Linked DNA regions of Homo sapiens: all the other regions are linked to region 3. Evidence: promoter capture Hi-C in 16 types of primary human blood cells and fetal thymus (Javierre and others, 2016). All regions are on one chromosome and are shown on one strand. Each heading gives the region's core, a stretch centred on a gene start or on the middle of the fragment in contact. The rest is flanking DNA. Distances are from core to core; before and after follow the strand shown. Region 1 holds the start of MON2 (MON2 regulator of endosome-to-Golgi trafficking). Region 2 holds the start of C12orf56 (chromosome 12 open reading frame 56). Region 3 holds the start of CNOT2 (CCR4-NOT transcription complex subunit 2).

Region 1 (2,700 bases), core at 25-2,524, 7.8 Mb before region 3:
TAAATTCACCAGTTTTCATACATAAAGCTTATACCATAGGAGGTGTCAAGTTTCCCAGAAGTTGTGTAATAGGCACAAATGATCAAAATTACTGCCCTAGGAGCTCTCTACTATTACCTCATCTGTCCCCTTTATCCATCCTTGCTTTGCTTCTTATCAGAAGGAAAAATAAAATAAAATTATTTAGCTTACAAAGTAGCTCTGTTACAGCCAAACAGCGCTATCCACTGACAATCTCATGGCTCACTGTCTTCCATCATGTCATAAGCTCAGCTGTCTGAAGGTGTTGGTTTCTTCATCTCTACTGTTTCTGGTTTTTCCTCCCTCATTTTCTGCTTTCTGACCAGCAGCTGCAAAATGTCTTGGGGAAAAAGTAGACCAACCTGGATCTTGGGGAAATACAGATGAAGATTTTTCTGTTTGGCTTTTGCCTCATATTTATTTGGCACTTCAGACCTGATGAAGGCTTTTATGTATCTGTGCCTTATTTGAGCCTCGAAACTCTGATTTTATAATAGAAGGGTATTCATTCAACAAGTATGTACTGATTACCTGCTATATGCCAGACACTGTTCTAGGTGCTGGAGATACACAGGAAACAAAATAAGATTTAAAAAGAGGAAGAACCGGCAGCCCAACTCGCGAAACTCTCCTTTTAGCTGGGAGCATCTGCCAGTAAAGGGGCCGGGACAGATCTCGTAGCGCCTGGTAGGTGATTGGAGGAATTTTGGCTTTTACTTTGAGTGAGATGGGAGGCCAGCGGAATGCGTGGAGCAGAGGGTAGTCTCATTTTAGAGATTAGGAAAATAAGAGGCTACCCCACAGTAAGTGCACCAGTTGCGTTTAAAGAAAAAAAATGTATATTAACAGGAGGTAGCCACTGATTTGGGGCCACTAGTCCAGAGATTCGAAATGAAGCGGGAGGAGACACGTTAAGATTAATCTACAGGGAAACAAATTATTTACACCGAAATACAATTTAACACAAACATACGCAAAGAGATATGCCAAGGAGTACTCGGGGGCTCTGTTCAGGCACTTGTTAATGAAAACGAAGCGAATCTTGACGCCTTAAACCCTGTCTAGCCTACTTGATTCCGGGGGTGGGGCTGTGGGAATCGCTGCCCACCCGGAATCCCGCCTGCCCCGAGCATGGCCAAGCCCCAGCCCCGCCCCGCCGACGGCCTGCCGCCGGGGTTGGCCGCGGCGGTGGCGGAGGCCACGGTACCCGGAAGTGCGGCTGACGTGTCCCGGCAGCGCTCGGAATTGTGGGCGACTCGGCTAATGGCGTCGGCGAGTCTTAGGGGCCTGGGGAGCTGGCGCTGAAGCTTCTTGCCAGGTTGGCTGGTGACACCCGGTGTGGCTGGGCCCCGCGGCAGCGGAGGGACCTGCCCGCCTTGTGGGTTTCTCGGCCAGAGTCGGCGGAGCCTAGCGGGACGGTGCGACTGCGGGGGGCGCCTCCGAGAAAAGCCAGAGGTGTTGCGGGGAAGCTGCTGGGGGACGCTCGAGCAGGCTCCGGGTTCGCAGCCCAGGGCCCAAGAAGCGGGCTGCTGAAGGACCAGAGACACCGGGAGGGAGCTGCCTGTGGCCCTAAGGAGCTGACCGTGCCAGAGCTTGTTTGTACCTCTCGGAAATTGGCTGGGACCTTGGAGGATCATGTCCGGCACCAGCAGCCCCGAGGCGGTGAAGAAGCTGCTGGAGAATATGCAGAGCGACTTGCGCGCCTTGTCACTGGAGTGCAAGAAGAAATTCCCACCTGTCAAAGAGGTAAGCTTCAGGTGACGTCAGGAGAAGGCACTGTGAGCATGCCTGGTCCTGTTAGACTCAGTGCTTCACCCCAGTTTCCAGTCCTAATTTTCATTCAGGCCTCACCTTTCCAGATTTGTGAGTCGGTGGGTTGTTCCACAAGGGCTTTTTATAGTTTCCACTGGAGAGGGCTGAGGCACTTTGATTTTCTCCCCTCTCCTGTCCTCCCAGTTTAGGAGTGAAGTTCATGAAGTGAGCCTATTCAGTTAATCCAGCTAGGTGTACTGTGCACTAGCCTATTCTGGCCTTTTTCTTACTTGAAACTGGCCAAACCAAAATTGAAAAACTTGTTTGTTGCTCCCCGAAACGAGTATCCACCCATCTTGTTGAAACCTGTACTCCTCACGTTTATGGCATATCACTGAATTGGAAACAATTTTCCTTCTGGTATATATCATTCAGCTTAACTCTGTATCAATCCTTTGACGTGTTAATAAACTATCCAGAGCCACCTAATTTATGAAGAATATTGAAGATCCACATAATCATGTTAAACCTTGTTATGAGCAGTACTGTAGTGGGAAGTTGGGCTTGCAGTCAGAGCGAATACACCTGAATTTAGTTCCAGCAATAAATCTTAACCTCTTTGAGCTTCGGGTTTTTTTTTCCAGCTGTAAAATAGGGTTAAAGGATGGTTTTATATTATGTATGGGAAAGATGTCAGAGCAGAAGGGTATTATTAAAGAGATCCCAGTAAATAATACATGGAAATTTAATTCTCCAAATAGTTCTTGAGGTGAAATATTTAACATTTGGTTACTATTTGCTTTTTCTCTTAAAATGCCATTTTAATTCTCTAAAAAAAAAAAACAAACAAAAAAACCCACCAAAAACAGGCCCGGCTAATTTTGTATTTTTAGTAGAAACAGGGTTTCTCCATGTTGGTCAGGCGGG
Region 2 (2,706 bases), core at 16-2,515, 5.9 Mb before region 3:
TGGGGAGGGGGTGGAGGGGAACGGTGTCTCACTCATTCTGTAGCTCAGGCTGGAGTGCAGGTGGGGCGATCTCGGCTCACGGCAACCTCCGCCTCCCAGGTTCAAGCGATTCTTGTGCCTCAGCCTCCCAAGTAGTTGGGATTACAGGTGCACACGACCACGCCTGGGTAATTTTTGTACTTTTGGTGGAGACGGCGTTTCACCATGTTGGCCAGCCTGGTCTCGAACCCCTGACCCCCGGTGATCTATCCACCTTGGCCTCCCAAAGTGTAAGGATTATAGGCGTGATCCACGGCACCCGGCCTTATGCATTTATTCTTATTGAGCATCTAACATGCTCTAAGCATCGGGGGCAAAAAAGTAAATGAGATATAACAGCACTTAACACACAGCATTTATTTGCACGGGTGTTGGCTTTCTAGCCCTCCAGCGACTGCTTCTAGGTAGGGGCCCTCTTTCGTTTTTGCATCCTCCGAGTCTAGCACAGTGCCTGGCACTGACTAGGTGCTTTGTTAACAAAGGAATGACTTTAAAAGGTATTTTTGATAGGGAGCTCGGTTCTCAAACCTGTAGCCCTACGTGGGGTAGGGGAGGCGGGAGAATGGGTGAACAGGCAGACACGAGGAGAATGGGAGACGTGTTTGTATTAGGAGTGCTCACAGCAATCCACAGCTTCCCTGTGTTCCTCGTTCTCAAATAAGAGGAGGGGAGTCGAGGGCAGGATGGGGCAGCCCTCCCCGCGCAGGAGGGCTGGGTTTGGGGGCCCCAGCCGGGAGTTCTCACTGCGCTCCCGAGCCCGCCTGCCCACCCGCGCCGCTCACCAGGTCAATGGCCACGACGTCCCGCAGAGCCACTACCCGCCGGATGGACTTGGGCGGGTTCTCGGTTAGGTAGACGAGCCGGTCGCTTAGCACCACATACTTGAGGATGTGGTTCTCAGAGTTGGACACCACGATGCATGGCTCGTAGGCGCGGACCGCGTCGTAGACCTCGGGCGGCAGATGCCGCCGCAGGAACACATCCAGGCGGCTGTTCCTGCGCGCGGGGAAGCCGGACGGCAAGGGGCTGGCCATGCCCGGCGCCCGCAGCGTGGCGGAGTGCTGGGACTCGAGGCCCTCAGCTCGCCCTCTCCCCGCCCCCGCGCTGGAACCCGCGCGCCACAAAGCCGCCGGCCACGCGTCGCCTCCTCTCCAGGCGCGGGGACCCGGGCCGCAACTGCAGGAATCGACGCTAGGTCGGCTTCCCTGGAGCGCCCTCCCCAGCCCTGTCCAGCCTCTCGATCTTTGTCCTAACCTCAGACGGCGATGGGCGGGGCAAGACGCTGGTCCTTCAGGCCCGAGTTGATGGGCACCTCGGGCTCATCACCGTGAAGTCCCCTGCGGCCGAAGGGCGGTGGATTTTTAGGGTCTCTCCCGCCCACCCCTAATGCCAGTCCCCACCACTGCGTACTCTGTTGCGGATCACACCATCCAATACAAACTTTATTGGTAATGGAAGCCAGCTTCAATCTGGTTTCCTGTTAGAAACTTGAAAGAGTTTAATTTACCGATTTATTTTTAACAACCCTAGAAACCTATTAAACCCAATCACACAGATTTAGCTTTTGGTTATAACATGGCCTGGCACAGCTTTCTGATATTGTCGGAGTGTAAACATAGGTCTTCTTTCTCCAACCAGTGAGAAAGGGATTTTTTTTTTCTTTTCTCTTTTTTTTTTTGAGACGCAGCTTTGCTCTTGTTGCCCAGGCTGGAGTGCAATGGCGCCATCTCGGCTCACCGCAACCTCCCCCTCCCGGGTTCAAGCGATTCTCCTACCTCAGCCTCCTGAGTAGCTGGAATTACAGGCATGCGCCACCACGCCCAGCTAATTTTGTATATTTTAGTAAAAACGGGGTTTCTCCATGTTGGTCAAGCTGATCTCCAACTCCCGACCTCAGGTAATCCGCCCGCCTCGGCCTCCCAAAGTGCTGGGATTACAGGCGTTAAGTCACCTCGCCCAGCCTTTGAGAAAGGGATTCTTCACATGAATTGATGTGAGCACACCCAAACCAACCTAAGGCATATGGTTTTGTTTCCAATGCCCAGGACAATCTATGCAGGAAGAATGAATGGGTGATGCTGGCATCTTGAAAAGTTGAAGCTGATAGACTGAAGAATGCGGATTACATACCCTGAGGCTGCAGAGGAGTAAGTATTCCTTAGTTTTTACAGGCCAAGAATAACTTACTAATTAGGTTAGAGAAATGAGAAGGGCACAACAGAAATGCTCTAAGTCAGAAGTTCCATTTTTTATTTCGAATCCTAGAAAAGTTATTCTCTTCCCCTCCCCATTGACCCAAAAACCTGATAATGAAACCATATCGTTCATTGCTGTGGCTGCCAGCAACCCTGAATCAAATTTGATATATTCTTTATATTCTCCCTTTCTACATATTTTATTATTGTATACTGTATGTTATAAGCAACTTCAAATCCCTTGTGGAAAGAAGGTATAAATATATTACAATCCATAAACAGATATTGTAGACTACACTAGTACAAAGGGAAAGAGAAATGTTTTGGTCTGGCTAAACTTTTTTTTTTTTTTTTTTTTTGAGACAGAGTCTCCCTCTGTCACCCAGGCTGGAGTGCAGTGGCATGATATCGGCTCACTGCAGCCTCTGCCTCCTGGGTTCAAGCCATTCTCCTGCCACAGCCTCCCAAGTAG
Region 3 (2,750 bases), core at 169-2,668:
GAATTTTCCTGAAGTGAAAAAAAAACAGTGAAGTAGAGTGTTTGATGAAATGAATAACCAAGCAAAACATTTTCTACCTACACCAGTACCACTAGGAGTTGAAATAAATTCACACAATGTCTGCTGATATGTCAAAACACCTTACCTTCAAAAACATGACAGTTACCTTTTATTTTATAGTATGCTTGTGTTTCTTCCTATTTCTTGCTTTTGACCTTCAATGATAAATGTAAACTGGATTACAGTGATTCTTTTGTAAGTAAAAGGTGACTTTTTAAAAGAAACAACCAATGGAAATAGAAATTTTATTTACTTCAAATTAACTGTACTTTACTCAAATAGAAAAGAATAATTTTCACATTATGAAGCTACACAATTCCAAAATACACATGCTGAGGCTCTTTTTAAGTCCGAATTGTCTAGTAATTACAAAAAAGTGAAGAGTTTACAGATATACAAGGAAATAAAGGCGAATTATTGCAAAGAAAACAAGTTTAATTTCACTTTGAATGACAACGATTTTTCTGGAAAGCAGATACTTCACTCCTTTAAGTTTCCACCCAAGCCACAATAATTTCAAACGGTCTTGCGGATGACCCAGCTGGTCACTCTTGTTTATGTGGGGACTGGAGGTAATGAGAGCCAAAAAAAGTGCTATAAACCTAATTTGGCTAGAGCAAGTTCACACGACACGACCGTGCTTTAAAAACTTGCTCTCCATTATGTACTTCCTTCCATCAGGTTGGGGAAAAAAAAATGGTGGGGATGGTGAGTAAACACACCAGTGGTTTCATCAGAGGGGAACTCACTACTCAGGAGGTGACGGTGACGTGGTGCCGGTCCCTGAAGTACGCGCACAAGCTCCGGAGGTTGCGGGAGCTGAGGGAGGAAACAGGGACACGATCAGATTCGCTCCAGGTGGCGGGAGTGAGGAGGGGAGGAGTGACGAGGCGGACGTGCGGGGGCGGGGGTGTCCAACACAAACACAAACACAAACACGAACACGAACACGCTCAGCGTCCCCGGGGAGGGCGGACTGAAGCCACCTCACCATTCATCGCCCCTGGACCCCGCAGTCCCCCTCGGACTCAGGGCCAGAGCCTTCTGCGAAGCAACCTAGCCCCAGGGAAACGGTAGCGGCCGCAGAAGCCCCGCTCTCTGTAACGGCCGCGGAGGAGCAGCAAGCCTCCCTGTGAGTCGGTGGGAGACAAGACGGAGCGGCGGTAAGGGCGGTAGGGAAGTGAAGCGCCTCTCTCCACCTTGTTAGAAGCGCGCTGAAAGCGGCCTGCCTACCCACCCCATCGCTGCCGTTTTGCAGTCGTCGCTCCCACCTTCCGCTGCCGCCTGGAGGGAAGCCGGAGCGACGGGGGTCACGGCGGCGGTCAGAGGGTAAAGGTCTTGCTCCCAGCAGCCTCCGCGGTGGATACGTCGCCATCTTGGATCCGCGGGACAAGAAAATTCATGCGGTGAGTTTTTGGTAAATTTTCGGAAGTCTGGCAGCGGGGCGCGCGGCGGGGGCGGCAGATTCGGGGCCCCCGCAAGGCGGGGGAATGCCCCGGGGCCGGTCCGGTCGCGCCCAGGGTCCGCCGGTAGCGTCCCGGCCCACCGCTTCCCGTTGCTTTTGTCTCGGCTCCAATCGAGAGACGGAGAGCGGAGCGGGCGGGGAGGGGGGTGGCGGCGGTGGAGGGAGGGAGGGGGTGTGTATGGGGGTGGTGGTGGACCGGACGTAAAGCGTCGCTGTACTCGGGCCGCTGCAGCAGCAGCAGCTCCAGATCCTAGGCCCGGTCCCATCCGCGAGTGGTGGGGCTTCCCCAGACTCCACTCCCCTAGGCTCCCGCCAGCGCGGAGGAGCCGCTGCCGCCGCGCTGCTTCCTGGGGGAGAAGAGAAGGCGGCAGCGGCCGTGGCCGTGGCCGACGAGCTCGAGCCCGCTTTAGACGGCTCTGCCGCCTTCCCGGCAGCTGGTGCTGTCTGTGGCTTCTTACCTTCTCTCAATACACGTATATCATCTGCCAGTTATGTGTATTTCTGTTAGTGTGTTTGCAAGTGTCAGATGGGAGACACTGGACTGGCTAACGGGTGTCAGGATCCTGCAGGCCCTGGGATACCGAAGGCTGTGCATGGTGGAGGGAGAAGGAATGCAACTGCGATGCCGCCTCTGCCACCGCACCAGGAAGGTGAAGCTTCCGTAGTGTCGTAGACTGAGTCCGGATGATCCTGGGGCGGCGGAGGAACCACAGACGCTTCTGTCTGTGAAGTTGCAAGTCCTGGGTTTCTACTTCCGCAGGGGCCTCTCCACCTTTTGCTGTCGTAGGTCTCGCTTAAAAGTTTAACAGAAGAAAAGAGTAGGGTTAAAAGAGGCCTTTGTAGTTCTTCATTGAAGCACTGTTGTCTGTCCGGGTGAAAGCTGATAACTCTTGGTAACTGTGGTCCTTAGCAAAAGAGAATTGGAGTTTTCTTTTATACAAAGTATTTCCAAGGTTTTAGACCTTATATTTATTCCAGGCCTGTAGGTACGGTATTACTACCACAAAAGTCTTACATTAAGGGTACCACCCTCTCAGAGGGAACCTAAACATCAACTTCCTTCGAATCCTTGGAGACATCTTCACTTTTCAACATCCGGAAGACTGAGTGCAACATATTTTGTTTCATTTTCATAAAAGTCTTGGTCAGAGAATCCCACTCCTTTTAAAATCGTTTGGGCAATTCCTCATAATTAAGTACACTGCTTTGAACCCTTAGTTCTTGG

The links. Contacts are between HindIII fragments. The CHiCAGO score rates a contact against its expected background, and 5 or more counts as called.
Region 1: the fragment with the promoter of MON2 here is called in contact with the fragment with the promoter of CNOT2 in region 3 in 3 of 17 cell types (total B cells, non-activated CD4 T cells and total CD8 T cells); the score reaches 6.4 in total B cells.
Region 2: the fragment with the promoter of C12orf56 here is called in contact with the fragment with the promoter of CNOT2 in region 3 in 1 of 17 cell types (total CD4 T cells); the score reaches 5.1 in total CD4 T cells.

What each region holds. Positions count from the first base shown.
Region 1 is chr12:62,465,552-62,468,251 of GRCh38, forward strand. It overlaps MON2 (MON2 regulator of endosome-to-Golgi trafficking), which reads left to right and starts at 1,275. Exons shown (of 35, transcript NM_015026.3): 1 at 1,275-1,767. The coding sequence starts at 1,657. RefSeq lists a silencer at 977-1,296 and enhancers at 1,327-1,436, 1,432-1,931. The HindIII fragment of the contact is 1,301 bases long and covers 26-1,326 here.
Region 2 is chr12:64,389,493-64,392,198 of GRCh38, forward strand. It overlaps C12orf56 (chromosome 12 open reading frame 56), which reads right to left and starts at 1,266. Exons shown (of 13, transcript NM_001170633.2): 1 at 822-1,266. The coding sequence starts at 1,073. The HindIII fragment of the contact is 6,871 bases long and covers 1-2,706 here.
Region 3 is chr12:70,242,015-70,244,764 of GRCh38, forward strand. CNOT2 (CCR4-NOT transcription complex subunit 2) reads left to right here and starts at 1,419. Exons shown (of 16, transcript NM_014515.7): 1 at 1,419-1,466. PRANCR (progenitor renewal associated non-coding RNA) reads right to left here and starts at 1,346. Exons shown (of 5, transcript NR_120460.1): 1 at 1,298-1,346; 2 at 810-879; 3 at 167-215. RefSeq lists enhancers at 705-1,904, 1,079-1,278, 2,009-2,148 and silencers at 838-1,377, 1,449-1,708. The HindIII fragment of the contact is 4,785 bases long and covers 1-2,179 here.